Linked DNA regions of Homo sapiens: regions 1, 3, 4, 5, 6 and 7 are each linked to region 2. The links are contacts of gene promoters, found by promoter capture Hi-C in blood cells and fetal thymus (Javierre and others, 2016). All regions are on one chromosome and are shown on one strand. Each heading gives the region's core, a stretch centred on a gene start or on the middle of the fragment in contact. The rest is flanking DNA. Distances are from core to core; before and after follow the strand shown. Region 1 overlaps H2BC6-AS1 (H2BC6 antisense RNA 1). Region 2 holds the start of ABT1 (activator of basal transcription 1). Region 3 holds the start of H4C3 (H4 clustered histone 3). Region 4 holds the start of TRS-GCT1-1 (tRNA-Ser (anticodon GCT) 1-1). Region 5 holds the start of HFE (homeostatic iron regulator). Region 6 has its middle 14 kb from the start of H2AC6. Region 7 has its middle 3.5 kb from the start of H3C6.

Evidence for each region. Contacts are between HindIII fragments. The CHiCAGO score rates a contact against its expected background, and 5 or more counts as called.
Region 1: a contact is called between a fragment that was not itself captured here and the fragment with the promoter of ABT1 in region 2, in 4 of 17 cell types (neutrophils, naive B cells, total B cells and 1 more). The highest score is 9.2, in neutrophils.
Region 3: a contact is called between the fragment with the promoter of H4C3 here and the fragment with the promoter of ABT1 in region 2, in 1 of 17 cell types (neutrophils). The highest score is 7.9, in neutrophils.
Region 4: a fragment that was not itself captured here is called in contact with the fragment with the promoter of ABT1 in region 2 in 7 of 17 cell types (erythroblasts, M2 macrophages, M0 macrophages and 4 more); the score reaches 10.2 in erythroblasts.
Region 5: the fragment with the promoter of HFE here is called in contact with the fragment with the promoter of ABT1 in region 2 in 1 of 17 cell types (total CD4 T cells); the score reaches 5.2 in total CD4 T cells.
Region 6: a fragment that was not itself captured here is called in contact with the fragment with the promoter of ABT1 in region 2 in 1 of 17 cell types (neutrophils); the score reaches 7.1 in neutrophils.
Region 7: a fragment that was not itself captured here is called in contact with the fragment with the promoter of ABT1 in region 2 in 1 of 17 cell types (neutrophils); the score reaches 5.8 in neutrophils.

What each region holds. Positions count from the first base shown.
Region 1 is chr6:26,158,131-26,162,252 of GRCh38, forward strand. H2BC6-AS1 (H2BC6 antisense RNA 1) reads right to left here. Exons shown (of 3, transcript NR_186648.1): 3 at 2,144-3,075. H2BC5 (H2B clustered histone 5) reads left to right here. Exons shown (of 1, transcript NM_021063.4): 1 at 1-477. The coding sequence starts at 40. The coding sequence ends at 420. Among named protein-coding and RNA genes, the nearest start is that of H2BC5, 2.1 kb to the left of the region's middle. RefSeq lists enhancers at 1-183, 323-372, 2,441-3,192 and a silencer at 1,371-1,665. The HindIII fragment of the contact is 1,067 bases long and covers 2,155-3,221 here.
Region 2 is chr6:26,594,958-26,598,791 of GRCh38, forward strand. ABT1 (activator of basal transcription 1) reads left to right here and starts at 1,996. Exons shown (of 3, transcript NM_013375.4): 1 at 1,996-2,266; 2 at 2,957-3,153; 3 at 3,308-3,834. The coding sequence starts at 2,026. The coding sequence ends at 3,688. TRY-GTA6-1 (tRNA-Tyr (anticodon GTA) 6-1) reads left to right here; the gene lies at 1-5. RefSeq lists enhancers at 878-1,027, 1,128-1,287, 1,845-2,284. The HindIII fragment of the contact is 8,276 bases long and covers 1-3,834 here.
Region 3 is chr6:26,102,294-26,106,180 of GRCh38, forward strand. H4C3 (H4 clustered histone 3) reads left to right here and starts at 1,640. Exons shown (of 1, transcript NM_003542.4): 1 at 1,640-2,044. The coding sequence starts at 1,655. The coding sequence ends at 1,966. RefSeq lists enhancers at 1,178-1,287, 1,312-2,002. The HindIII fragment of the contact is 10,429 bases long and covers 1-3,887 here.
Region 4 is chr6:27,094,038-27,098,132 of GRCh38, forward strand. It overlaps TRS-GCT1-1 (tRNA-Ser (anticodon GCT) 1-1), which reads left to right and starts at 3,269; the gene lies at 3,269-3,350. The HindIII fragment of the contact is 661 bases long and covers 1,716-2,376 here.
Region 5 is chr6:26,085,912-26,089,699 of GRCh38, forward strand. HFE (homeostatic iron regulator) reads left to right here and starts at 1,518. Exons shown (of 6, transcript NM_000410.4): 1 at 1,518-1,605. The coding sequence starts at 1,530. It also overlaps HFE-AS1. The HindIII fragment of the contact is 3,203 bases long and covers 1,133-3,788 here.
Region 6 is chr6:26,136,500-26,140,764 of GRCh38, forward strand. No RefSeq gene overlaps it. Among named protein-coding and RNA genes, the nearest start is that of H2AC6, 14 kb to the left of the region's middle. The HindIII fragment of the contact is 2,247 bases long and covers 1,563-3,809 here.
Region 7 is chr6:26,219,569-26,223,796 of GRCh38, forward strand. No RefSeq gene overlaps it. Among named protein-coding and RNA genes, the nearest start is that of H3C6, 3.5 kb to the right of the region's middle. The HindIII fragment of the contact is 2,020 bases long and covers 1,440-3,459 here.

The DNA.
Region 1 (4,122 bases), core at 1,438-3,937, 440 kb before region 2:
TCAGGTGTTTGCAACAGTGTTCTAACTATTAACGCTACGATGCCTGAACCTACCAAGTCTGCTCCTGCCCCAAAGAAGGGCTCCAAGAAGGCGGTGACTAAGGCTCAGAAGAAGGACGGGAAGAAGCGCAAGCGCAGCCGCAAGGAGAGCTATTCAGTGTATGTGTACAAGGTGCTGAAGCAGGTCCATCCCGACACCGGCATCTCTTCCAAGGCAATGGGGATCATGAATTCCTTCGTCAACGACATCTTCGAGCGCATCGCAGGCGAGGCTTCCCGCCTGGCGCATTACAACAAGCGCTCGACCATCACCTCCAGGGAGATCCAGACGGCCGTGCGCCTGCTGCTTCCGGGGGAGCTGGCCAAGCACGCCGTGTCGGAGGGCACCAAGGCCGTCACCAAGTACACCAGTTCCAAGTAACTTTGCCAAGTAAGCATCTTTACACCTAATCCCAAAGGCTCTTTTAAGAGCCACGCATGTTTTCAATAAATGAGTTGTAATCATTTCATTCAAAAGGGGGGTTATTGGACTTAGCACCACAGTACCAATCTTTAATGTTACGTTAGTACTGCAGAGGAAATAACTTGGAAGTTACAGGGAATAACAATAGGTACTAGAAATTGAGTGCTATGGGTACGTATTAGATCGTTAGCTCATTTAGTATCACATAACACTAGCATAAACTGAAAGTATTGTAAATGTACAGCTCTTTGGTTTCCGTGTGCAGATTTCCAAGTTGATCGTGATGTTGATCCGGGACTCGGTGTGGTGACGGCCCGCCCTGAGCACGAAAGTGCACGCTCTTGACAACTTCCTTATGTTTGGAGCTTTCTCCACCACCACCCCCGCCCATTTTCTTGTAAAATTTTTACCATGCAGATATGTAATAACTGCAAGTAAAGGCTGAAGACAATGTGAGCTGAACACGGAACTATTACAAAGGTTTCTGATTTGTTTTGTAATTGGGCCAGTTTCTGTCTGAAGCTCTTAAGCGAGTGGGGCAGGGAAAGGCGGATCCTAGGCGCTGAGGTGCAGGAAAAAGAAGCAGCTTCTGAGACACCTTAAAATTCTTTTGCTAAACCGTCTTTTTCTGAAAGTCATTTAATTTATAGGTTTTTTTTTTTTTTTTTTTTTTTTTTTTTGGCAGCTTTCAGGTTAAAAGTCCTCCGGGTAACGGCAGAAACCAAATAGTCAATCATTAAGGTGCCTGACTGCACGTAGGCAATAGTTATCGCAGGACTGAAGCCCCCTTTGCAGTACAATTTATCCTTTCCTAGATGCCCCTGAGTACGGAGGACTGGAGGAGGTAGAAAGGGAAAGAAAACCTCCTTCTGGCAGGATGTAGCTTCTGCTGCACAAGGTAGGATGATGACAAAAGGTTTTCACTGCTGGGGAATGGATGATTGCGGGAGAAAAAGAATCTCGGAAAAGAGTCGGGAGGGAACTAGGAGGGAGTGGCCAGAAGGAAAGGAACAAATACTTGAGACGTGAAAAATGTGAGATGGATGAGGCTAGGTTTGGAGTCAAATGTTGGCTGAGAGGGAGAATTTAAGTGATGGATGGATGATCATTGTCTAAAAGAGGAATGAATTTAGAAGTTTGTCCTCATGCCCTCATAAACAAACACGAAATGATGGATTATGGGATACATTTTCCATAACATGGCAAGCGTGGTACTTGGACGGATAAATAAAAGCCTGAGTAATATTTTCTAAATTCTTAAAAGTAAGAAAGAGGGTCTAAGAAAGTAAACTCAGAGCCAGGGACTTGGCCCATGTTAAACCCCAAGCACTACAGCTGGCTTTTACTCAACCCGTGGAAACTGACCAGGGTATAGAGCCTGATATATCTTCTTAGGTGAAGGTGAGACACCAGACCTAAATCTGTCATCTCAAGAGTAGAAGGATGAACCACACATACAAACCCATCACAGATGAATGCAAATAAAAAAGTCAGCTCCGAAGTTGGGTTCTGAGCAGTGTAGATTCTACTGCTAAGGCTTGGACTACAAGCCATCGATGCTTACTTGTTCCTGGCATTCATACCATAGGGATTCAAACACCCAAGCTGAGAATTTAATTTAGGCATATCCCAGGCTGGTTTTGTGCCCCTGAGCACCCGGTAGAAACAAATACAAGTCATCTCTGGAAAAGAAGCTTCATTTTACACCTCAACAAATTGCCACAGCTAAAATATCCCCCCAAAAATGCACAAGGAGCTTCACAATCTAAATTAAACATCATGAAACTAGAAGTATGACTAATGAAAACAAAAGCAACAGACAATGGGAGCTGGGCGTGGTGGCTAATGCCTGTAATCCCAGCACTTCGGGAGGCTGAGGCTGGAGGATTGCTTGAGGCCAAAAGTTTGAGATCCTGTCTCTGAAAAAAAAAAAAAAAAAAAAAAGCAACAGACAATGGAAATGAAAAGGGAGAATTAACAAGATACAGACTTGAGGCCAGGCACGGTGGTTCATGCCTGTAATCCCAGCACTTTGGGAAGTTGAGGCAGGCGGATCACAAGGTCAGGAGTTCGAGACCAGTCTGGCCAACATAGTGAAACCCCGTCTCTACTAAAAGTACACAAAAAATTAGCCAGTGTGGTGGTGTGCGCCTTTAATCCCAGCTACTCAGGAGGATGAGGCAGGAGAATCGCGTGAACCCGGGAGGTGGAGTTTGCAGTGAGCCAAGATCGTGCCACTGCACTCCACCCTGGGCCACAGAATGAGACTCTGTCTCAAAAAAAAAAAAAAACAGACTCGAATTGACTAGTGTCTTTTTGAAAAAAGAAAAAGAGGCCAGGCACAGTGGCTCACGCCTGTAATCCCAGCACTTTGGGAGGCTGAGGCAGGCGGATCACCTGAGCTCAGGAGTTCGAGACCAGCCTGGCCAATATGGTGAAACCCCATCTCTACTAAAAATACAAAAATCATCCAGGCATGGTGGCATGCACCTGTAATCTCAACTACTCAGGAGGCTGAGGCAGGAGAATCGCTTCAACCCAGGAGGCAGAGGTTGCATTGAGCCAAGATCACGCAATTGTCCTCCAGTCTGGGCAACAAGAGTGAAACTCCATCTGAAGGAAAAAAAAAGAAACAAAAAGTCTTATAAATATATTGAGGGACTAAGGAAATACCAAAAGTGACCACATAGATTTGAAAAAAGAACCTAATAGAAATTCTAGAAAATAAACATGTAATTATAAGACAAATTGAAATGAAAAGCTTACTGCATGTGTTTAACAGCAGCCAATTGGACCTACCGGTAGAAATTTAATAAACTATGTAATCAGATCTTAAGGAATTATCTGAAATGCAGAGATAAAAATGCAAAAGTGAGTTTAAGAAACCTGGAATTAGGGCTGGGCAAGGTGACTCATGCTTGTAATCCCAGCACTTTCAGAGGCCAAGGCAGGAGGATTGCTTGAGCCCAGGAGTTGGAGACCAGCCTGAATAATATGGCAAACCCCCGACTCTACTGAAAATACAAAAAATTAGCCAGGCATGGTGGTGCGTGCTTGTGGTCCCAGCTACTCAGGAGGCTGAGGTGAGAGAATCACTTGAGCTAGGGAAATCAAGGCTGCAGAGAGCCATGATCACACCACTGCACTCCAGCCTGGGCAATGAGAGTGAGACCTTGTCTCAAATAATAAATAAATAAATGAAAAGAGACCTAGAATTAGTAGTAAAATATGATCTGACGTTGACCTAATCACAGTACCAGAAGAAACAATCAGGGAGAATGATGCAAATGTGAGATTTAAAAGATCATGGCCAATAATTTTCTAGAATGGATGGATTACTAATAATTAAAAATAATATAAGAAAATAAAAATTGAAACCTAATGTATTGCTCATCAAAGCAAGCCTAGGTTAACAAAGTAAATATTTAAACAGAAAAATGATACAAAAAAAGGGAGTCACTATGTGTGCTGTGAATTAATTAAGCTCTCCAAATTTTTACAGATGTAATACTGATTTTCAAAAGATTGTGACTTCTGTTACATATTGACATATGACCTCACACTAAAGCACTGTTTGAAATTCTGCATGTAGGAGGATAATTGGATAATTGGTTATTTACATGAATTTTGTGTCTAGCTAACCTTATCAAATTCTATTAA
Region 2 (3,834 bases), core at 746-3,245:
GAGGAGTTCCATTTTTAAAAGTGTCTCTTCTGGGCCTGAAATAAGGAAACTTGGAGAACGCATGTGCAGCTTGCTTATTCAGGAATTTGTAAGACGCTCAGAGAAGGAAAATAATCCACCCTGAAAATTGCTAACAAGGGTTGCTTCACAGACAGTTGAGTGGGACTCGATTTTCACCAAGTTGAGAAGGGATCATGAGGAATGTGGGGAACGGGAAGAACACGCTGCCCCAAGGCTTCATTTTTTTTTTTTTGTCGGTTTCACGGTCCTTTAGCACCCCCTGTTATATTGATACTTGGTGTGAATAAACATTTTATTAATGATAATTTCAAATATATACAAAGTAGAGAAAATAGCTAATAGCTACCATTAGCCACCACACTGGCACAACTTACCGACACTCTTGCATCCATCATGCCCCTCCCCTAGCTCCAGATCTTTTAAAGCCACCCCAACACGTGTTCTCATTTCATTAACTGTACTGTGTTTTGAAGATGTCAGTGTTTATAATTAAATAGCAGTAGACGGAGTTTATCGCTCTCATCGTACCCCGCTCCTCTTCAAAAAAGGAGCAGTGGACACCTACCTGACAGAAAGTTCTCTTCAATAAAGTTAATGAAACAGGCGTGTTTGAATTCGAGAAGTCTATTATTAGACTTTTAGACACTCCATGAAAGAGTGCAGGGCCCTGTTACTTTAGAAATATACTTGGGGACTGGCAAAAACTGTCATCTCTGATTTTAATAGTGGACACATTTACTCCCTGCTTCCATTCTCTGGGCTACTCTGCGCTCTTGGAGCGAGATGGGAAATTTTGTCAGGCCGCAGCAAGGACGGATTTATGTTGATAGTCATCAAACTCGCCCCGGGCTGCTTCCAGAAAGCTAACCGGATTACTTGTACGCGGTTCCCAGCACTGTCCTTTGCAGTCAGCTTGTCGCTGGCGCCGATGGGAAGAACTGAAACGCCTCAAGGGTGGGGACGGCGCCCCCTGCTGGTCGCGCCCTCGGGCGACGATAAGAGACTGAGGACCCGAGCCCGCGCGGGGAAAACTGCCCTGAGCTTGGCTTAGGGATGGTCCGCAGGCCGCCTGGTGGGAGCAGGACCGCCGTGGCCCGGTCCGTTCTGCGGTTGCGTAGGTCATAGAAGGAAAAGTGGTTTGTGATCTGATAGGGAATCTGAGGACAGACCCAGGGAGAGCAGAAATAAGCGCGCCGCCGGGGGGTCGCCAGAATTGGAGGCTTGTGCGCCTCTGACAAGTATTTGCAACATAAGTATGCATATGGATAATGTATCAATACACACGTGTAATAGATGCCAAACAAATTCTTCAAATAATTGTCACACATTTAAATTTTCAGACATTCACAAAATCAAATGTAAAATATTAAACTGAAAGTTCACAACTTAAATTTTCAAAAATTAAATCTAATTAAATTTCCAAAGTTGAACTGTTTTCAAAATTAAATTTTAAAATATTCAAAATTCCGAGGTAAATTTCCAGAAATAGTTAAAACCTCAAAACTCAAAATTTTTAAATGAAATTTATAAACTTTAAAAGGTGAGTCATTCCTCAGCTGGAATCGCACCCGGGGCCCTTGAATAAAATGCTATTTTGATCGCTAGAACACATAGAAACTTCTCTAAAATTGTTCTGCAAAATTCCCTAAAAAGCCGGCATCAACCCGCCTTTTAGCGTCTCGACAAGGCGTTCTATAGGGTAGGTTATATTTGGGGATCTGCCTTTTCTGGTTCTGCCTGTCCTGAGTTGGAGATCTGACCGGGAATCTGAGCCTAACCCAAGTTTCCCATCCCGCTTCCACGCTCTGAATCAGGCTTCCGACCTGACACACCACTTCCTCCCTCTCCCCTCGGCCTTCCCCTGGACCCGACTGTATTGCCCAATCATTTCCTTTCATTTGTCATCACCACCTTGGACCCGCCCCCTCGTCTCAGGCCGTCGCACGCGTTTTGCGTCAGTTGGCAAGGCACTTTACGGCCGTCGTGCCGCTCGTGTCAGTCAACATGGAGGCAGAGGAATCGGAGAAGGCCGCAACGGAGCAAGAGCCGCTGGAAGGGACAGAACAGACACTAGATGCGGAGGAGGAGCAGGAGGAATCCGAAGAAGCGGCCTGTGGCAGCAAGAAACGGGTAGTGCCAGGTATTGTGTACCTGGGCCATATCCCGCCGCGCTTCCGGCCCCTGCACGTCCGCAACCTTCTCAGCGCCTATGGCGAGGTCGGACGCGTCTTCTTTCAGGCTGAGGGTAAGTATGCAGGCCCTGACGGTGACAGGAGGAGGTTGTCGCTCGCTGGCGGGGTGCAAGCATGCATGTCCTGTTGCTTCGCTGCGCGAGGCTGAGGCACGAGTTGCTGGATTTTGGGGGTGGGGAGTGCGGTGCTTGGCTCCTGGCTGGTGAATCAGTCTGTGAGGATGCTGGGGTGGGCGGGCGGAGGGGATATGGGGAGAGTGGGTAGCGCAGTGTGTCTGGTGGTTCTTTAGTTCTCGGATTGTTACTATTTGTGTTCTTATCCCGGCTCTGTTCACCTCTCTTTCCGGACCTGTTTACTGGTTTGTTACATGAATACAACCTGAGTAAAAGTCTCGTCAGCTTTTCTACAAAACTGAACATAACTCTTTAGCATTGCTGCCTAGGTCAAGAAACTATTTGATCAACCGCCCCTCTTCTTTCCACCCTCAATTTTACATTGAGGCTGAGGACTTGTGCCGGTTTTAAGCAGCGTTCAGGGCTGGCCAGATTAAGGAGTGGACAATTAAGGAAAGAATTGAGTTAGCTAGAGGAAAGGGTGCGATTTACAGTTCCCTTCCTCCTGGGCAAAAACTCTTCAGGTGGGACTCCCACTGGCAGATGTGAAGAACGTTGCGGGCAGTGGGAGGTGCTTTTGAGTGAGTGCTGCATAGGCGTCCTGGACGGGTCTTTGTCTTTGGCGCGCAGACCGGTTCGTGAGACGCAAGAAGAAGGCAGCAGCAGCTGCCGGAGGAAAAAAGCGGTCCTACACCAAGGACTACACCGAGGGATGGGTGGAGTTCCGTGACAAGCGCATAGCCAAGCGCGTGGCGGCCAGTCTACACAACACGCCTATGGGTGCCCGCAGGCGCAGCCCCTTCCGTTATGATCTTTGGAACCTCAAGGTGAGAAGATAGATCTTTCTGCCACACCTCTCACCCTCCCTTCTCCCCAACTCTGGCCCAAGTATCCCCATGGCCTCTCATTGGCCTTGTCCCCTTGTCTCATCTTTCTCCCTAATCTGCACTATCCTGATCTTTTCTTCTTTTCTGCCCACAGTACTTGCACCGTTTCACCTGGTCCCACCTCAGCGAGCACCTCGCCTTTGAGCGCCAGGTGCGCAGGCAGCGCTTGAGAGCGGAGGTTGCTCAAGCCAAGCGTGAGACCGACTTCTATCTTCAAAGTGTGGAACGGGGACAACGCTTTCTTGCGGCCGATGGGGACCCTGCTCGCCCAGATGGCTCCTGGACATTTGCCCAGCGTCCTACTGAGCAGGAACTGAGGGCCCGTAAAGCAGCACGGCCAGGGGGACGTGAACGGGCTCGCCTGGCAACTGCCCAGGACAAGGCCCGCTCCAACAAAGGGCTCCTGGCCAGGATCTTTGGAGCCCCGCCACCCTCAGAGAGCATGGAGGGACCTTCCCTTGTCAGGGACTCCTGAGGGCCTGGGTGGCCCCTTCCATTTCCTGGCCCTGCTCTGCTTCCTGTCTACCTCATACTAGAATGATCGTGACTACCCGGGCAGACATTTTACTGTGTTTCTCAGACCAAGTGTCTACTGATGGCCCAAACATGGAGTTTTGTGGG
Region 3 (3,887 bases), core at 390-2,889, 490 kb before region 2:
TTAGAAAGGAGATATTAGGAGCAGGAAATAGAAAGTAAATAAAATATCAAAATAAAAATGGGGTTTTATAAATGATATAATAGGCAAAATAAAGGAAAGGCATCCTAGACCTCTGGTTAAAATGAAGATGGCACTTGGCGAGATGTGTTCCAGGGTAGTTCACATGATGTATGTTTTCAGAGAATTGTCATATTGCATATGCTGCTATATTTTTTATTTTCATGAATTAAAAGGCATGTTGAGATTTCAGAGTTTTACTTATGATCTCAGACTCTGCATTTTTTCTCTGTAATGTTTGACATTTCTTCCTAGCTAAGTCTCTAGTTATAAGGTCTGTGTTGTGGCATGTGGACAGTGAGTGGAAGAACCTAAGAACTCAATTTGGGGCAGAAGAATGTAATCAATTATTTCAGAAGTGATACAAACAATATGACATGTAGAGCATTCTGGCCTTTCCTGGGTCTTTTTTCTCCATTCCTGGATTTCTTCTCTTCATGTGAGCAAGTCTGAGGTTACTATATAATGTCTCTCACAGGCCACAGCCCCATTCTAAATATTCCCAATAGAAATTCATTTATTAACCAGAGAGTGGTGGGTGGGGTTGTTTTTGTTTTTTAAACAAAAGTGGATCTTATGGGCATTCTGGAAAGCTCCCGCAGGAAGCTAAGAATAAAATTTTGAATTGAGAAGTCCCTTTCTTCAAACCACATTCAGACCCAATTCTGCTATTCTATTTATTTTTCAAGGGGATTAGCCTTATTTTAACACCAATAATCTTATCACAAAAACCTCCCAGAGGAAGACCCTGTAGATTTTGTAATGACCTTAATCAAGTATTAGCCCTACACTTCAATTAATCCCCAACTGTACAAAACGAATGTTCTTTTCTCTAAAGCTGTAGCAAGTTGAAAGGGGATTAAAAACGGAGGGAAGGGAAGAGTGTTTGGAATTTCAGGCACAGCAAACAGGCACAGCAGACCAGGAAGAGCGTCCCGGGAAAACATATTATCCAGACTTAAGTTTATATTCCCTGTCTCTCTCAGACTTTTGCAGAAAAATGAGTCATTCAACAAATATTTGAATCGAGATAGGGAAAGTGACGAGGAAGAAGTTTGCACTTATGAGGTTTTAATTTGCAATTATTTGGCTACCTTTTTGCCTTCCCAAAACATAGGGTCTTTAGGAGTGAAACTTCATAGCCAAACTTATACCTTGTCCAGCACAGAGAAGGCCATCAAAATGCCTGGTTTAAATAAAAATATTAAAATGATTGGGAGGGTAAATCCCTTGACCTATAAATCTGACCTCCTTTAAACATTATTTGTATGTTCCCCAATAAACTATTCCGTAATTTATTAGTTAGCAAGTGGAAATAAAAAGAAATGTGGAATGGGGCTATGCTTAGCGTCATTAAGCTGACAGGAATACAGCGCATTCAACTTGCAAACACCCTTCCACTCCCACAAAGAGCAAGCTGTCACTGGCCAATCAAAACAATGAACCATAATGAAACAGTTTTTCTTGCTCCACCCACTTGGTGACCAAATTTGAAAAAAAAAAAAAACCGCGCCAACTCATGTTGTTTTCAATCAGGTCCGCCAAGTTTGTATTTAAGGAACTGTTTCAGTTCATACCTTCCACTGCGATAGGAATCATGTCTGGTCGCGGCAAAGGCGGAAAAGGCTTGGGGAAGGGTGGTGCTAAGCGCCATCGTAAGGTGCTCCGGGATAACATCCAGGGCATTACAAAACCGGCTATTCGCCGTTTGGCTCGGCGCGGTGGCGTCAAGCGCATTTCCGGTCTTATCTATGAGGAGACTCGAGGTGTGCTTAAGGTTTTCTTAGAGAACGTTATTCGAGACGCCGTCACCTATACGGAGCACGCCAAGCGCAAAACTGTCACAGCCATGGATGTAGTATATGCCCTAAAACGTCAGGGGCGCACTCTGTATGGCTTCGGCGGCTGAATCTAAGAATACGCGGTCTCCTGAGAACTTCAAAAAACAAAAACAAAAAAACCCAAAGGCCCTTTTCAGGGCCGCTCACAAAGTCGTTTAAAGAGCTGAAATGCGTTGCGAGAATGAGTTTGGATGACAGAAATAACCGTGACATCCTGCATAAGAATGAATTGTGTTTGCCATGACCGGCCACACTGTGACAAAATTTCAAAGCATAAAGTAGGCATAGAGAGGTAAGCGCTAATAAAGTGATTGGCTCCACAAAAAGCATTTTGCTGGGCGCAGTGGCTCACGACTGTAATCCCAGCACTTTGGGAGGCCAAAGCTAGTGTATCACTTGAGATCAAGAATCCGAGACCAGCCTGGCCAAAATGGTGAAACCCCCTCTACCAAAAAAAATACAAAACTTAGCCGGGCGTGGTGGTCTGCACCTGTAGGCCCAGCTAGCCCGGAAGCAGAGATTGCAGTGAGCCGAGATCGCGCCACTCCCCTCCAGCCTGGGAGACAGAGAGAGACTCCTCAAAAAAAAAAAAAAAAAAAAAAAAAAAAATTATGTATTTTAGAGCATTCTAAGAATGGTACTTTGGACTTAACCGAAGGGCTGGAGGCGCGTGTTGAACAAAGGTTATCACCTTTTGGCTCATGCGGCACACAGCTATGTAAATAAAGCATCTTTAGGGACAAGCTCTCATTTGCGGAGGGTTCTATGGCTGTTGTCCTATTGGCCAAAACAAAGTGGTCTAAGTCCGGGCGCGGTGGCTCACGCCTGTATTCCCAGCAGTTTGGTAGGCCAAGGTGGGTGGATCACGAGGTCTGGCGTTCAAGACCAGCCTGGCCAAGATGGTGAAACCCCGTCTACTAAAAATACAAAAATTAGCCGGGCGTGGTGGCGGGCACCTGTAATCCCAGCTACGTGGGAGGCTGAGCCAGAGAACTGCTTGAACCCAGGAGGCAGAGGTTGCAGTGAACCGAGATTGTGCCACTGCACTCTAGCCTGGGTGACAGAGCGAGGCTCCATCCAAAACAAAACAAAACAAAAAAGTGGTCTAATAATCCCCAGAACTGGAGGAAGAACCATAACTTATTGATTTTGTTTTTAACCTTATGTATGCCAGGCATGCTAGCCTTGTATACATACAAGGCTAGAGGAGCAAAGGTGCAGGAAGCCATCTTGAGGGAGTCCCATATTATTGAGAGACCGGCCAGCTGCTGGGAGAGGCTAGTTGTTCATCCTCACTGTATGTGATGAGAATCTGGTGACAGTCCATTGCTGGGCACAGCATTTAGGCAAAATGGCTCTCTGCTATGTCAGGCAAGTGAGGCATATTTTTGCACAATCCTAGTAATTCCGAACTCATTGGGAAACAATGGCAATTACATCCAAGCAAGGAAAGGTCTGTGGTTGATTTTATCTATACAAATTTAAAACATAATGTTTACAACCTTTCATTATAGGACACAATTTTTAAAAAGATGCCAAACTATACAAATAAGTTCAGAAAAGTGAGGTACTATTGAACCGTCTGGAAAACATAAATGTATGTGAAATAATGCAATGCATAGTTTTGCAGGGGACTTTGTTCAAAGTTTCTCGAAATACCATGGTCCAAAGTAGACTAACATTAGCATTGGTTATTTATGATGATCAGTAAGAATACTAAATCAAAAATCAAAGGAAAATTAAACTATGTCTGTTTAAAGAGAAACGTAGTTTACCTCAGACTGAGAGTTAAAACAAGTTTGTGATTCAGGAAGGTGGAATTCAGAACCTAATTGGGCAGCCTCCAACATTTCCATTAAGGTTTGGATTCTTAAAATTTTTCAGTCTTCGGTATGCTCTGGTAGTCTGATGAAACTTACAGATTCTTTTCATAAATAAGATACTTAAAGTAATTCATAGGGTTACAATTGTATTAGACCAATAATATTA
Region 4 (4,095 bases), core at 796-3,295, 500 kb after region 2:
TATACATGATACAGTAATGATGGACACATGCCATTATACATTTATCAAAGAGGAAAGAGTTACAACATAATCCATAAGAGTTACAACAAAGAAAGTGAACCTAAAGTAAACTACAAATTTTAGTTAATATTAATGTATCAATATTGGTTCATCAGTTGTAACAAATGGACCACAATCGTATAAGATTTAATAATAAGAGAAGCTATAGGAAGGATAGGAGATATATGGGAACTCTTTGTACTTTCTCTTCAATTTTTCTGTAAATAAAAAACTGCCTAAAAATGTCTATTAATTTTTTAAAAGTAAAAAGAATGTAACCAGGAAAGAGCAGTAAAAACAAAACAAAAGGTAGAGGAAACATACTGGAGATTTAAAATCCAAGTAAAGGAAGGGAAGGAAGGAAGGAAGGAAGGGAGGGAGGGAGGAGAGGGAGGGAGGGAGAGAAAGAGAGAGAAAGAAAGAAAAAGAAAAAGGAACAAAAGAAAAGAAAAGAAAATTAGCCGAGTGTGGTGGCACACGCCTGTAGTCCCAGCTACTTGGGAGGCTGAGGCAGAGAATCACCTGAACCCAAGAGGCAGAGGTTGCAGTGAGCTGAGATTGCTCCACTCCACTCCAGCCTGGGCAAGAGAACAAGACTCTGTCTCAAAAAAAAAAAAAAAAAAAAAAAAAAAAAGGGCAGAGAACACAGAAATCAGAAAACTAGCAACAACGAAAAACAAGCTAATATCCCTAACCGAAATACAGGATTTAATGATGTAATAGAGTTCCCAAAACAAGGAATGGAAACAGAAACACACTAAAGCATATCTTTCAGACATTGCAGAACATTGAGGACAAGGAAATTATCCTGAAATAGATAAATAAAAGCTAACTGCAAATGTAGACTCCATAATTAGAATGACTTTGTACTTCTCAAAATGAATACTGGAAGCTAGAAGAAAATAGAGAACTCTCTCAAAATCCTGAAATAAATTTCAAAAGCCTGAAAAATATTTCCCAGACAAACATTCAATCAAGTTGCTGGAGAAGTATTGAAAAGTCTCATCGACCACGGTGAAACCCCGTCTCTACTAAAAATACAAAAAAAATTAGCCGGGCCTGGTGGCGGGCGCCTGTAGTCCCAGCTACTCGGGAGGCTGAGGCAGGAGAATGGCGTGAACCCGGGAGCCGGGGCTTGCAGTGAGCCGAGATCGCGCCACTGCACTCCAGCCTGAGCAACAGAGCAAGACTCCGTCTTAAATTAAAAAAAAAAAAAAAAAAAGTCTCATCTACAATGAACTCTTTCTCAGGAAGCTGCTTTACAATGTACTCCACCAAAATGTGAAGGTATAGTAAGACAGAAAATACATGAGAAATTGGGCATACAGCACCAGTGGCAGGGAAATAAAATGTATAGTACAATGGTGAAGGAAGACATCACGATGAAAACCCCATATCAAGTTTAGAAATCACTCAGTTTATTGTTTTGGCAAGGCTTTTATGGTTATTTGTGATATTTTTTTCTAAAAATAATGTTCAGGAAACAAAATAGGAAAGATAGGTAAATAATATTGCCAAACATAATTATATAAAGGGTGATTACTTATTCAATAAAAATTCTGATATAACTATATTTGAAGGAAAAATTGATCAGAAGAGTGTCTGTGGAGGTGTTTACGGTGAGGAAGAGAAGTGAATCTTCTATTTGTGTAATGGGAAATCAATGGAAAATACTAAGCTTAAAATTAATATGTAGCATATGTATTAGAGTACAATTTTGTCTCTGTAACAAAGACCCAAAAGAACCATAGCTTAAAAGAAGCATTACTGATCTCTCCTGTGACTGTCTGAGGGTGTAATCAATGCCAGGGTGATGCTTTGGCTTCATGGTGTTGGTTCCAGTCTTCTATGTCATGGCTCCTTCCTTCCTACAGTGTGCTGGGTCCAATCACTATTCCATGAAGCCTTCATTCTCAAAAGCAGATACATGAGGAAGAGATAAATAGAGGTTATTTCCTTCTCTTATGGACATAACCTGGAAGTTTTACATACATTTTCTCTCTTATGCCTTTACTTAGAAATTGGTCACGTGATGACGCTGACTGTCAAGGGAAGTCACTGTAATCTTTTCATGGGTGGCTATGAGCTCAGCTAATTTTCCATTTCTTGGAAAAAACAAAAATAATGATTGGACAACTAGCCATCTTTGCCATAGCATGATGACATGCAGGTAAAAACAACACAAAACGCCAAATGGCTGAAAATGTTTGCCTCTACTAAGAGGAATAAGATAGGAGAGACCACTGTTTCGCATACACATATTTTTTGAAGTAATTGAGCTTTTAAAACATGTATGGTTAACTTTGATTAAAAATTTTGTTAATAATAATTTTAAAAAGCTTTAAGAACCAAAGTATGGATAAATAATTCAGCCAGGCTAAAGTGAGAAAGGGAAAGAGCGTTCCATGAGGGAAAATCACTTGTTGGAAGAGGAAAACTAGATCTGTCTTGAGGCAAAAACCCAAATGGGACTGAGCATGGAAAACAACGGGTAAGGAAGTGGGTTGAGTTGAGGTTGAAGATTTCAGGCAGGTCAACGCAGCAAACACTGCAATATAAGGGCTCTTCCAAGGAAAAAAAAAGCGGATGATTCTTTGTGAATTCACAGAAACTAGCAAAGGTGGTATTCACTCAAGATGTTAGTGCAATCTAACGTAAAATATCCTGACATTGAGAGTGTGAAAATACAGCAGGGGTCCATTCCTGCAGGATTTCCCCTATGTTCCCTGTTGTTTAGCCTGTGATTGATTTGCGTGGGCTTCTGAAGAGAAACCGACTCCGGTGTGAACGGTTTTGGGAACCTCGGTCTCCTGCTGGCTCCCAGGTGCGCTATCCGACGCAGCGAGACGCGGTGAGCCTACAGAAGGGCTGACCAGGCTCACCTGACGCCCCAGGTCGACAGCAAACCCCGTGCGCCCCGTTGGCCCGGTCACGCCCGCAGCCTGCTCAGGCGCCTCCTGCCTCGGGACCAGGAAGCGGAAGAAAGGGAGAGACCGGCCCGGCAATTACGTTTCTATCATGTCTTGAACATTTGTGTGAGTCCCACGAAAGCTAAGCCCGTTTATTCCCCCTCGAAGCGTTTCCACTCAGTTCTTGATCATTCATGTGAAAACGAGCCATCTCCACGTCTCCCAAACGTCTTCAAACCGTTTCCTAAGTCTTGTAAGGCCGCCTGTGGGTTCCTATTACAAACTCTGAAATAAAATACTCGGGAAACGTGGGTTATCAAGACGAGGTGGCCGAGTGGTTAAGGCGATGGACTGCTAATCCATTGTGCTCTGCACGCGTGGGTTCGAATCCCACCCTCGTCGGGGGAGGTCTTTTAATACGAAGAGGAGGAAACAACACCCAAGTCCAGCCAACTTCCCTTTCAACTCTCCTGGAATTCAGGTCCCTGGCGTTGGAGAGGAAAAAGGAGCTCTTGTAATTTTGTATCATCAGTATAACGATGGTGTTGCTGGGTTTTTTAACTTTATGGTTGATGGGGTATTGATTGTCAATATTGTGCGCGTGATCAGTTTAATGAGTACTCTTCTGGTGGGCTTTCTACCTGATGACTGCAAAAACGCCTTCGAGCCTGAGAAAGGGGAGAGGGCAATAGAGAGGAGAGGAAGGTGACGGTGGGGCTAGAAAGAGAGAGAGATGAAGCTGCCAAAAAGGGGGAAAAACTTGAGGTGTGGTTATCCCAGCCGCTTCTTTTAGAAATCATTACTACTGTGAACATTAAAATAAATTCATCAAAAAGATAAGCAGAAAAAAACAAAAACAAAACAGCACGACAAATACACCAACACAGAAATTCAATTACTTAGATTCTCAAGACAAATCGAGGGACCAACATTGAAGAAACGTGTAGCACTGACGACATGGCCACAAGATTTTTGTTTTGTTTTGTTTTGTTAAAAAAAAAAAAAAGCAAGCAAGCAAGCCGGGCGCAGTGGCTCAAGCCTGTAATCCCAGAACTTTGGGAGGCCGAGGCGGGTGGATTACCTGAGGTCAGGAGTTCAACACCAGGCTGGCCAATTCGGCGAAACCCCGTCTCTACTAAAAAATACA
Region 5 (3,788 bases), core at 268-2,767, 510 kb before region 2:
TTCCAATGTTATTGTATCTGTTTGCCTACAGTCGAGGCCCTGATATCCTGTTTGATTTTCTTGAATTGCCAAAATTTGCATACATGCTTACAAAAATAATGCCTGTTGAATTTGCTAGATATGTAAAGGTTTGGAGCAAATCAGGTGTATTAAATTTATTAATATTGTTTGAAATGTCTAAGGCAATAATTCCCAAACTTCGTTGAGGGAGAAGGAAAGCTTTTAAAATCCCATTGCCCAGGTGGCATCCCATACTGTTACTGGGAATTATGCATTGGGATGGATCCTTTAACCGAGGAGATTATTATAGCCGGAGCTCTGAACCAGCAATCTCAGTTCTTGTGATAGTGAGCAAAGAACTACAAACTAACACCAAAATGCAAGCTTAAAGCAAAGTTTATTGAAGCACAATAATACACTCTGAGGGACAGCGGGCTTATTTCTGCGAAGTGAACTCAGCACTTCTTTACAGAGCTCAAGGTGCTTTTATGGGGTTTGTGGGGAGGAGTTGAGGTTTGGGCTGTATCTGAGTGACAGGATGATGTTATTTGATTGAAGTGTATAGCTATACAATCTAAAATTAAACTGTGCATGGTCTTACCTATAATTTGTTAAGAAAAGCCTCCCAGGGATGGGGGGGCAAAACTGTATGTAAATTCTATTATAATGATGGCATGATGAACTTGGGGTGAACTTGAAGACAGGCTTTTGTGTTGTTGGGCATGTGCCACCTTAGGGAATTTCCACCTGTACCCTCCTTTCTCTTTCTCCAGGATATTTTGGCCACAGACTTTATCATAAACTCCATCCCTTAGGGTGGCATTAGGGTAGTCTTGGGCCTGAATTTAGGTGGGCCAGTGGCTGTCTTAGTGACAGCCTTTCCGCTCTCTTCTGTCATCCCCTCCCAACTGCTAATGTCTAACTACCTAACAATTACCCATTAAATCAGTGTGTCTGGGGTTAGGAGCAGGCCTCAATATGTTTAATCATTCTCCAGATAATCCCAATACTGTAAAGTTTGTGAAACACTTGTCAGATAATTCAATTATGAAGGCTGTGGAAGGTGTTTCAGTAGGATCTAATTGGTTAATGTTATGACTTAATTAATTTGAATCAAAAAACAAAATGAAAAAGCTTTATATTTCTAAGTCAAATAAGACATAAGTTGGTCTAAGGTTGAGATAAAATTTTTAAATGTATGATTGAATTTTGAAAATCATAAATATTTAAATATCTAAAGTTCAGATCAGAACATTGCGAAGCTACTTTCCCCAATCAACAACACCCCTTCAGGATTTAAAAACCAAGGGGGACACTGGATCACCTAGTGTTTCACAAGCAGGTACCTTCTGCTGTAGGAGAGAGAGAACTAAAGTTCTGAAAGACCTGTTGCTTTTCACCAGGAAGTTTTACTGGGCATCTCCTGAGCCTAGGCAATAGCTGTAGGGTGACTTCTGGAGCCATCCCCGTTTCCCCGCCCCCCAAAAGAAGCGGAGATTTAACGGGGACGTGCGGCCAGAGCTGGGGAAATGGGCCCGCGAGCCAGGCCGGCGCTTCTCCTCCTGATGCTTTTGCAGACCGCGGTCCTGCAGGGGCGCTTGCTGCGTGAGTCCGAGGGCTGCGGGCGAACTAGGGGCGCGGCGGGGGTGGAAAAATCGAAACTAGCTTTTTCTTTGCGCTTGGGAGTTTGCTAACTTTGGAGGACCTGCTCAACCCTATCCGCAAGCCCCTCTCCCTACTTTCTGCGTCCAGACCCCGTGAGGGAGTGCCTACCACTGAACTGCAGATAGGGGTCCCTCGCCCCAGGACCTGCCCCCTCCCCCGGCTGTCCCGGCTCTGCGGAGTGACTTTTGGAACCGCCCACTCCCTTCCCCCAACTAGAATGCTTTTAAATAAATCTCGTAGTTCCTCACTTGAGCTGAGCTAAGCCTGGGGCTCCTTGAACCTGGAACTCGGGTTTATTTCCAATGTCAGCTGTGCAGTTTTTTCCCCAGTCATCTCCAAACAGGAAGTTCTTCCCTGAGTGCTTGCCGAGAAGGCTGAGCAAACCCACAGCAGGATCCGCACGGGGTTTCCACCTCAGAACGAATGCGTTGGGCGGTGGGGGCGCGAAAGAGTGGCGTTGGGGATCTGAATTCTTCACCATTCCACCCACTTTTGGTGAGACCTGGGGTGGAGGTCTCTAGGGTGGGAGGCTCCTGAGAGAGGCCTACCTCGGGCCTTTCCCCACTCTTGGCAATTGTTCTTTTGCCTGGAAAATTAAGTATATGTTAGTTTTGAACGTTTGAACTGAACAATTCTCTTTTCGGCTAGGCTTTATTGATTTGCAATGTGCTGTGTAATTAAGAGGCCTCTCTACAAAGTACTGATAATGAACATGTAAGCAATGCACTCACTTCTAAGTTACATTCATATCTGATCTTATTTGATTTTCACTAGGCATAGGGAGGTAGGAGCTAATAATACGTTTATTTTACTAGAAGTTAACTGGAATTCAGATTATATAACTCTTTTCAGGTTACAAAGAACATAAATAATCTGGTTTTCTGATGTTATTTCAAGTACTACAGCTGCTTCTAATCTTAGTTGACAGTGATTTTGCCCTGTAGTGTAGCACAGTGTTCTGTGGGTCACACGCCGGCCTCAGCACAGCACTTTGAGTTTTGGTACTACGTGTATCCACATTTTACACATGACAAGAATGAGGCATGGCACGGCCTGCTTCCTGGCAAATTTATTCAATGGTACACTGGGCTTTGGTGGCAGAGCTCATGTCTCCACTTCATAGCTATGATTCTTAAACATCACACTGCATTAGAGGTTGAATAATAAAATTTCATGTTGAGCAGAAATATTCATTGTTTACAAGTGTAAATGAGTCCCAGCCATGTGTTGCACTGTTCAAGCCCCAAGGGAGAGAGCAGGGAAACAAGTCTTTACCCTTTGATATTTTGCATTCTAGTGGGAGAGATGACAATAAGCAAATGAGCAGAAAGATATACAACATCAGGAAATCATGGGTGTTGTGAGAAGCAGAGAAGTCAGGGCAAGTCACTCTGGGGCTGACACTTGAGCAGAGACATGAAGGAAATAAGAATGATATTGACTGGGAGCAGTATTTCCCAGGCAAACTGAGTGGGCCTGGCAAGTTGGATTAAAAAGCGGGTTTTCTCAGCACTACTCATGTGTGTGTGTGTGGGGGGGGGGGGCGGCGTGGGGGTGGGAAGGGGGACTACCATCTGCATGTAGGATGTCTAGCAGTATCCTGTCCTCCCTACTCACTAGGTGCTAGGAGCACTCCCCCAGTCTTGACAACCAAAAATGTCTCTAAACTTTGCCACATGTCACCTAGTAGACAAACTCCTGGTTAAGAAGCTCGGGTTGAAAAAAATAAACAAGTAGTGCTGGGGAGTAGAGGCCAAGAAGTAGGTAATGGGCTCAGAAGAGGAGCCACAAACAAGGTTGTGCAGGCGCCTGTAGGCTGTGGTGTGAATTCTAGCCAAGGAGTAACAGTGATCTGTCACAGGCTTTTAAAAGATTGCTCTGGCTGCTATGTGGAAAGCAGAATGAAGGGAGCAACAGTAAAAGCAGGGAGCCCAGCCAGGAAGCTGTTACACAGTCCAGGCAAGAGGTAGTGGAGTGGGCTGGGTGGGAACAGAAAAGGGAGTGACAAACCATTGTCTCCTGAATATATTCTGAAGGAAGTTGCTGAAGGATTCTATGTTGTGTGAGAGAAAGAGAAGAATTGGCTGGGTGTAGTAGCTCATGCCAAGGAGGAGGCCAAGGAG
Region 6 (4,265 bases), core at 1,436-3,935, 460 kb before region 2:
AATAATTCTCTTTAATATGCTCTGGGTCTAGGGTTAATAGATGTTTGCTTAAAATCATGGAAAGAAAATGGTCACACAGCTGGTATGTGTGATCAAATTTGTGCTGTTTCATCCACTTAATGTTTACTTTGTGGTAATGGAACCTCCCAGCTTTTATTTTCCTTCCTTCCTTCCTTCCTTCCTTCCTTCCTTCCTTCCTTCCTTCCTCCCTCCCTCCCTCCCTCCCTCCCTTCCTTTCTTTCTTCACAGAGTCTAGCTCTGTTGCCCAGGCTGGAATGCAGTGGTGCGATCTCAGCTCACTGCAACCTCTGCCTCCCGGGTTCAAGCGATTCTCCTGCCTCAGCCTCCCAAGTATCTAGGATTACAGGTGCATGCTGCCACACCTGGCTAGTTTTTGTATTTTTAGTAAAGATGGAGTTTCAGATGTTGGCCAGGCTGGTCTCCAACACCAGGCCTCAAGTGATCCGCCTGCCTTGGCCTCCCAAATTGCTGGGATTAACAGGCCTCAGCCACTGTGCCCGACCCCAGCTTTTATATTCTAATGCTGAGATTATTCAGTTAACACTCTTACCTGCTAGGATAAGTTTGTTGGAGAATTTTACCTTACCTTGTACCCTTTACCTTCACATCTACCTGTACCCTGGCCCTTCACATCCTTTCCATATAATATATCTTCAGTAAATACAGGGAAAAAAACCCAGAATGATTATGTTGACAGCAAAACATGTTTGTGCAGAAACGGAGTAGTCACTATCTAAGCCACAGAGACTTAGGAGTGTATTCCTGAGTTATGTATCATTTTAACCATCACTGGATCTTAAATCCCAGTTGCTAAATTGAAGGGAGATACATGACTCTTTTTAGGGCTTTGCTCTCTGATACAGTAGCCATTAGCCACATGTGATATTTTAAATTTAAATAATTAAGTCAAAAATTCAGTTTCCTCAGTCTCACCACATTTCAGGTTGCTGGTGTCTACTGTATTGGATACACAGACATAGAACATGTCTATCATCACAGAAAATTCTATTGCATTGCACTGGGATAGGTACTTTTTGTGCCCTTGGGCTGATAAGTTCAAGTGCACTTAACTAGCTTCCTCCAAGTGGAATCAGAGGATAAATTTACCATACAAAATACAGGATACCCAATTATATTTGAATTTCAAACAGGCAACAAATAATTGCTTAAGTATGCCCCTCACTGCACACCCAAATATTACATGAGACATTCTATACATATATATATATATATATATATATATATATATATATATATATATATATATATATTTGAAATTCAGATTTAACTGGACATTTGGTATTTTTAATGTGCCAAATCTAGCAACCCTATCTGAAGAGCAAAACTGGAGTGTCTAGTCTGGATAGGTCCTTTTACACCACAGGGAGTTATTTGAGGAATTGAGAAGGGCTGTGGTACCTGTAAAGAACTAACTCATTATGAAGAAAAGGATCTGTAAGTTTTTCTGTATGTGTAAGGAAGGCCAAGAAGGTGGTTTCCAGATATATTTACTTTTTCTTCTCTCTCTCTTAGGTTGCAAAAGCTTCTCATTTCAGAGAGATGCCAGGATCCTAAGTGCCTGCCAAACTTACCAATTCTAAGGAATAAGTGGATGGATGGCATTACTGATTCCTACATTACTGATTGATTCTGCATCCGCAAATTGTTTTATTAAAAACATTCTACATCATGTGTGGGGAGATAAGGAGGATAAAATGAAGAGAAAGAATATTATTGAGGGGAAGTTCTTCTGAATACAAAATGTGTTTAATTTTTTAAATAAGTATTACATTCACAGGGTTCAAACTATTTGAAGTAAAGAGATTATATATAAAGAATCCATCCCTCAACTTACCCAGGTGGTCACTTTTCTTTTTCTTGTGTATCTGCCCAGTATTCATTCCTGCTGATATCAGTCAATAATGAATGATACGTGTTTTCTTCACTTTTTTCATTCTTGTCAGGTAGCAGACTGTGTAGACTTTTCTGCACTTGCCCTTTTCATAACAATCTATCTTGGAGAACTTTCCCTATGAGAACATACAGAGCTTCCTGTACACAGTTGCATGTACTGCATTATGCAAATGCATTATATTTTATGTAACCTGTCCACTGTTGGTAGGCACTTGAGTTGTTTTAGTCTTTTGCTATCAAACAGTTCTGGGATGATTAACCCTGATTTACTGCAAAATTGAAATTGCTCTGCTATTCTGCTGGAATGGTGGTAAGTGAACTGAAAATTCCAGTCACTCTTGGGCTAGACTCAACGTTCTTAAAAACTATGTGGCCATCACCAAATTAGTTATTTTGAACCTTAATTTCTTCACCTCTAAAATGGAGGTAATACTTACCTTAAGTGGCTATGAGAATGAAGATCATGTGTATGAATTGTTGGTGCTCTAAAGAACAGCACAAATAAAATTATTTTCAAATTTAATTTTAATTGAACTATGTGTAATTTCTTAATTTTGAAATAATTTTATTTGTAATGTGCATAATCTTATTTAATGTATAATGTATACATTGTAATAGAAACAGATTTCCCAAATTCCAGCCTGGCATGAGGTAATAAAAGGTAATGCAAAGGGAGAGGAAAGCATGTGTCATTAATTTTCTGCCTAGGACACCTCCCTGGTTAAATTGCCATTTCCTTTCTTCCTTGCATAATGATTAGGAAACACATCCTCCTGACCTGCCTGCCCTCTTTTGCCTACTTTTTCATCTGCAGTCAAGGTCTGGTTTTAAGACTGACTGTTACTTTTACAAATCTGTGTGTATTGGTGGCTAAGGGCCTGTATGGTCCACTGCTGTATTCCCAGGTCCCAGCATGGTGCCTGACGCTGCCTGGCAAATAGTAGTCACCCGAGAAATGGCTGATGAATTCATGAGGCCTACTCTGTATGGAAATTTCAATTCTGGCCCCGAATTTTCAGGAGCTGGCAAGAGAGCCACCTTAATATCATAGGCTGAGTTGGAAGAAGGGAACACCCAATTTATTCTTAAGAAGTACTTTGCCCAGGTACTGTGGCTTAGGCCAGTAATCCTAGCATTTGGGGAAGCCAAGTTGGGCAGATGGCTTGAACCCAGGATTTCGAGATCAGCCTGGACAACATGGAGAAACCCCATCTCTACAAAATATGTAAAATTTAACTGCTTGGTGGGCCTGCACTTCTGGTCCCAGCTACTCCAGGGCTAGGGTGGGAGGATTGTTTGATCCCTGGAGGTCAAGGCTGCAGTGAGCCATGATCACAGCAATGCGCTCCAGCTCTGGGCAACAGAGCGAGACCCTGTCTCAAAAAAAACAAAAATGCCTATACAATAAATCTATAAAAAGTGGGTTTTGTGTGTCTATACACACACACACACACACACACCTGCATAGACACTCAGGTGTTCTGGAAAGACACAGGAATCTGAAGCCAAAATACTTGTGATTTTTTTTCAGCTCTGCCACTCACCAAATGTCTGATGGGATTAGTTACCTGCCATCTCAGAATTTCTCTTCTGTAAAATAAGGTAATAGTACCTCCCAGAGTTATGAAAAACTATCAAATGAGATGGCAGATGAGAAAACACTATATTCCTTGTAAAACCTGACAAATATGTGCAAGATTATATAAAGACTGTCTTCTGTCCATTTTCAAATGTGGAAAAGTGAAAGCAGGACAGGATGTTGGGATTTCTGTCAGAGATTTGCTGGCTTCCACCTGCAGAAATTGAAGTAATTGGGGTTCTTACACCTAAGTACTAACTGAGTCTGGTTGCAGTTTGCCCCCATGGCTACATGAAGCTTTTAGAAGAGTCAGCATGGTAGACATGGAATGTTGAATGGTGGTGGAGTGTACCCACACACCTCCCACCAAGTCAGCTCCAGGTTCAGAAGCAGCAGCCCCAGTGGAAGGCATGCGTGTTTGTAACTCAGCTGAGCCACCTTTCAAGAAGCAGAGGCTTTCCAAACAGGGATGCCCCCTGCTTTTGGTTCAACTTGACTTCCTACCTTCAGTGAGGACATGGAGAATTCATCTAGACTGGGTACCTGAGCAAACTTGGCAGAGCAAAGAGAAATGTGGAAGGCCCTAGGTAGACAGGCCCTGTGGAAGGAAAGAATGAAAGAGGACAGAAAGAAACTCCCATTTTCTTTAGCACAGTCCCTTCAGATTAAGGATGAAGAGGCTGGGGTTCTGAATTGGTTGGCCTTAGGTAATGGTCACAAAAACAAGTCAATGGCTTTTCCACATCCGTAC
Region 7 (4,228 bases), core at 1,200-3,699, 370 kb before region 2:
AAGTCTTACAATGTTTCTTAAATAAAATTTTCACTAAAACACGATTAAAATATAGCAATTGCAAGATAAATGTCTATGAAGCCCCATAGTATAACTCCCTGACATTCTTTACTCAATCAAATTGGGGCTCAGAAACAATACCCCAAAATGAAGGCCAAAGAAGCAACCTCAGAAGCAAAATTTTTCTGTGACTTTCTCCTGCCCTCTTGTCTCTCAGTCCCATTCTCCCCTGAGGCTAGACATAGAAACTAGAATTCCGGTTTCCCAAGGTGGCTTATGACAACCAGAATCCTTTTTCCCCAAAGCCAACCACAAAAACTAAAAATATTACTCTAACTTCCCTTCCAACTTTTCGTGTAAAAACTGGACACAGAGAAATTATTTGATCCACCTTGTTTAATTGCAGGTCATAAGACCCCATTCCAGAGATGGAGCTGTCCCATACCCAATACCCAGAAGGAAGGAATGCATGTTCAAAGAGGTGAGGGATGAAATGAAAATTCTAAACCCCTTTGACAGAATAATGGACCCTCCTTTGGCTAAAAGACCCCAAAAGTTTAAGTTCCCAGGCATGACAGGATGGAGGCTGCACATCCTGTTTGTTTCTACCCCTCTTCCCCTTTCTAATCACTGCTAGATTTTCTCAAAGTCCGATTTGAGGGAATAATACACCGGAAAGCCCTTTTACTTACTTTATCTGGCCTCTTCCACCCTCCTCCATGGTGGTCCAGACAAGACAGATATTAAGGACCATAGAGTTTCTTGATAAATGACTGCAGGCCCACAACTGGTTGTGACCAGTCTCCTGAGAATGCAGATCATGGACTTCTGCCCTACATTTCAGTTTTATATATAGGACCTAATTATAACTCATTTAAATGTTAAATCTTCACCCCAAAGTGATCATGGGACATATCTTACATACATGTAAACCTAATACACATCTGATTGGGTGTCCTTCATGAATATTCATAGCTCCTCCTATAACCTGTTGAATATGTATATTTCTCCAACCCAATCCTCAAAAATTCCTGTTTTATCCCTCCCTGCTTCCCTCCAAGTGCCTGTCTCTCAGCAAACCAAAGCTACCCTTCCCAGCCTGTCAGAATGGCCACCTTGCAGGCTGCAACTCTTTGAGAAATAAAGCTCCTTTGCAAATGTATGAACCTTCTCATTCTTCAGTTGACAGAGGCCAAGAAGAGTCTAGACAAACAGGCCTTGCTGGGTTTCTCCACTCGGTTTATTAACGTTTCATCATACCCTTTTTATCCAATCAAATTTCTACAAGGTTGTCCATATGTTGTTGAACCTAAGCATAGAATTGGACAATTTTTCCTGTATCTTTGTGTTTTCATCCTAAAGGCTCCCTTGAAGACGTTAATAAATTTGTGTAACTTTTCTCCAATTAATCTGCCTTTTGCAAGCTAATCTTACAGCAAAGCTTCAGAGCTCGCCTTGGCTCCTATATAATAATAAACACTTTAACTTTTTATTCTTTTTAGACTTCAAAGTAATTGACCTGATGTTCTCATCCGAGTTTTTCTTGGAGCTTATGTAGCTTCCAGGAATAGCAAATTATTTTCCGGACTTTCTTCTTTTCATGAAATGGCATTGTGCTTCCACAGTGATTTCTCTTCCCCTTTTTTTAAACACCAGAATTAGCAGTTGTAGAGGCTGTCCCTCAAAAATATATGATCGAGGGGAAAATATTCATATAACATTTCTTTTTTTGTTGTTTTGTTTTGTTTTTTTTTTTTCATTTTTGGGTCATGCTCTGTTGCCCAGACTGGGTTGCAGTCTCACAATTATGACTCACTGCAGCCTCAAATTCCTAGCCTCAAGCAATCCTCCTAACTCAGCCTCCTGGGTCACTGGCATTATCGGACTGAGCCACTGTGCCCGGCTAAAAGAATTTCAAATACTGTCCACTTACTGATATTTTGCTATGGAAAAATTCAAACATCAATAATTTTGCTAGTTGCCCACCTCTTCTTGCGTCATTGAGTAATGGCTTAACAAGCCCCCTTAGCTCTCTAACACAACTGTATAGACATATAGATGTAGATATAAATATAGATATTGATTTATTGTAAATAAAGTCCAGATGCTATAACTGGGTTCATAGAAATATATTGAATGTACTCATTGTTTCAAGGCCTATGCTGTCAAGATATGGTAAAGAATCAAGAAACAGAGAAGAGAAATGAAGAATCCTGGAACAGTGCTATCTACAAAGAATAATGCAAGCCACGGCCAGATGCGGTGGCTCATGCTTGTAATCCCAGCACTTTGGGAGGCCAAGGCAGGTGGATCACCTGAGGTCAGGAGTTCAAGATCAGCCTGGCCAAAATGGTGAAACTCCCCCCATCTCCACTAAAAATACCAAAACTACCTGGGTGTGGTGGCTGGTGCCTGTAATCCCAGCTACTCAGGAGGCTGAGGCAGGAAAATCGCTGGAACCGGAGAGGCAGAGGTTGCAGTAAGCTAAGACGGCAGCACTGCACTGCAGCCTGGGTGACAGAGCAAGACTCTGCCTCAAAAAAAAAATAAAAATAAAAAAGAATAATGCAAGCCACATATGTAATTTTGAATTTTCCAGTAAGCACATTTTAAAAATTAATAAGCAGGTAAAAGAATTTTAATAATTATTGTATTTAAAACAAAATACAAAATAATTATTTCAAAATATAGTCAATATAAAAACATTATTAATGCAATATTTCACATTCTTTTTTAAATCTTAAGTCTTCTAAATATGAGGGACATCCTATTCAATTTGATATTACATTTTTGTTGGAAATAAATGGAATTTCATTTTGATTTCATAAATTTCAGTGCTGAAAAATAAAATTCATATATCTGATTGTTTAAAACATATCTAACATTTTCCAATAACTGAAGTATCAGCCTTTGAATTAAAATAATGAAAAGTAAAATAAAAATTCAGGCCGGGCACAGTGGCTCACGGCTATAATCCCAGCACTTTGGGAGGCCGAGGTGGATGGATTACTTAAGGTCAGGAAATCGAGACCAGCCTAGCCAACATGATGAAACCCCGTTTCTACTAAAAATACCTCCACCCCACCCCCCCCAAAAAAATAAGCCGGGCATGGTGACAAGCACCTGTAACTACAGCTACTCTGGAGACTGAGGCAGGAGAATCGCTTAAACTCGGGAGGTGGAGCTAACAGTGAGCTGAGATCACCCCACTGCACTCCATCCTGAGTGACAGAGCAAGACTCCTTCTCAAAAAAAAAAGAAAGTCAGTCCTCAGCAGCAACAACCACATTTCAAATGCTCAGTAGCCACAACTGGTTTCTGACTGTTTTATCACATAACACAGATCCTATGGGAAATTGTGTTCAGGTATGGAAATAGTGATGGAAATTACTGATTAATACAAGTGAGCTGCTAAGTTCTTATGTAATCATGTAAATTTTGCACTGACTTCTAAAATAAAGCTTTACACATATTTAGAGATGAGGATTATGAAAGGAACTGAAGGTAGGTTCCAATGGCAAAACACCGGATTGACAGATTTAAGAACACTGGGGAGGAAATAGAACTATGGGGCATAAAGATGGAATTTCCTTAATGGTTCTCACTGACTGTGACCTAAAGTTTATCTTTTGATTTTGGAAACATTTTTTAGATGTAGATATTAACATTCTAATAATAGAAATGAAAAAACTAAAATGAAAATGAGAAAACAGAAGATAATATCAATAAACAGGTCTTGGGCCTCAGAAGATGAGATGTAGGGAGTGTGGAGAGGAAAAGCACAGGGGGTGCATAGCTCTCATTAACAAACGGCCCAGCCCACAAATACGTAATCATATTATACAAAAGGATTTCAGTTCTTCCCTTGCTTCCTATGAAACAATTTTGCCAACATACCTAACCGTTTTACCGTGATTTAAAGTGTACAGAATTTTCTTTTTCTGAAAAGGAGAGAAGCAAGGGACTCATATATATTTCAGATGTGAGATTGAAACGCACGACAATGTGTAATTTCAGTCAAGACTTGCCCACGAGTCCTAAGATAATTCAAATTTGCAAAATAGACACTAACTTGAAAGGTGCAATTGTATCAATCCTGTGGTTAGCAGAATTTTGATGAATGCCCTAAAATAGGGCAGGTTTAACAGAATTCAGGGAATGAGCAGGAATGCACAAAGCATCCTTTGTCTCCTCTCCACTCCAGCTTGCAGACATCCGCGGGCATTTG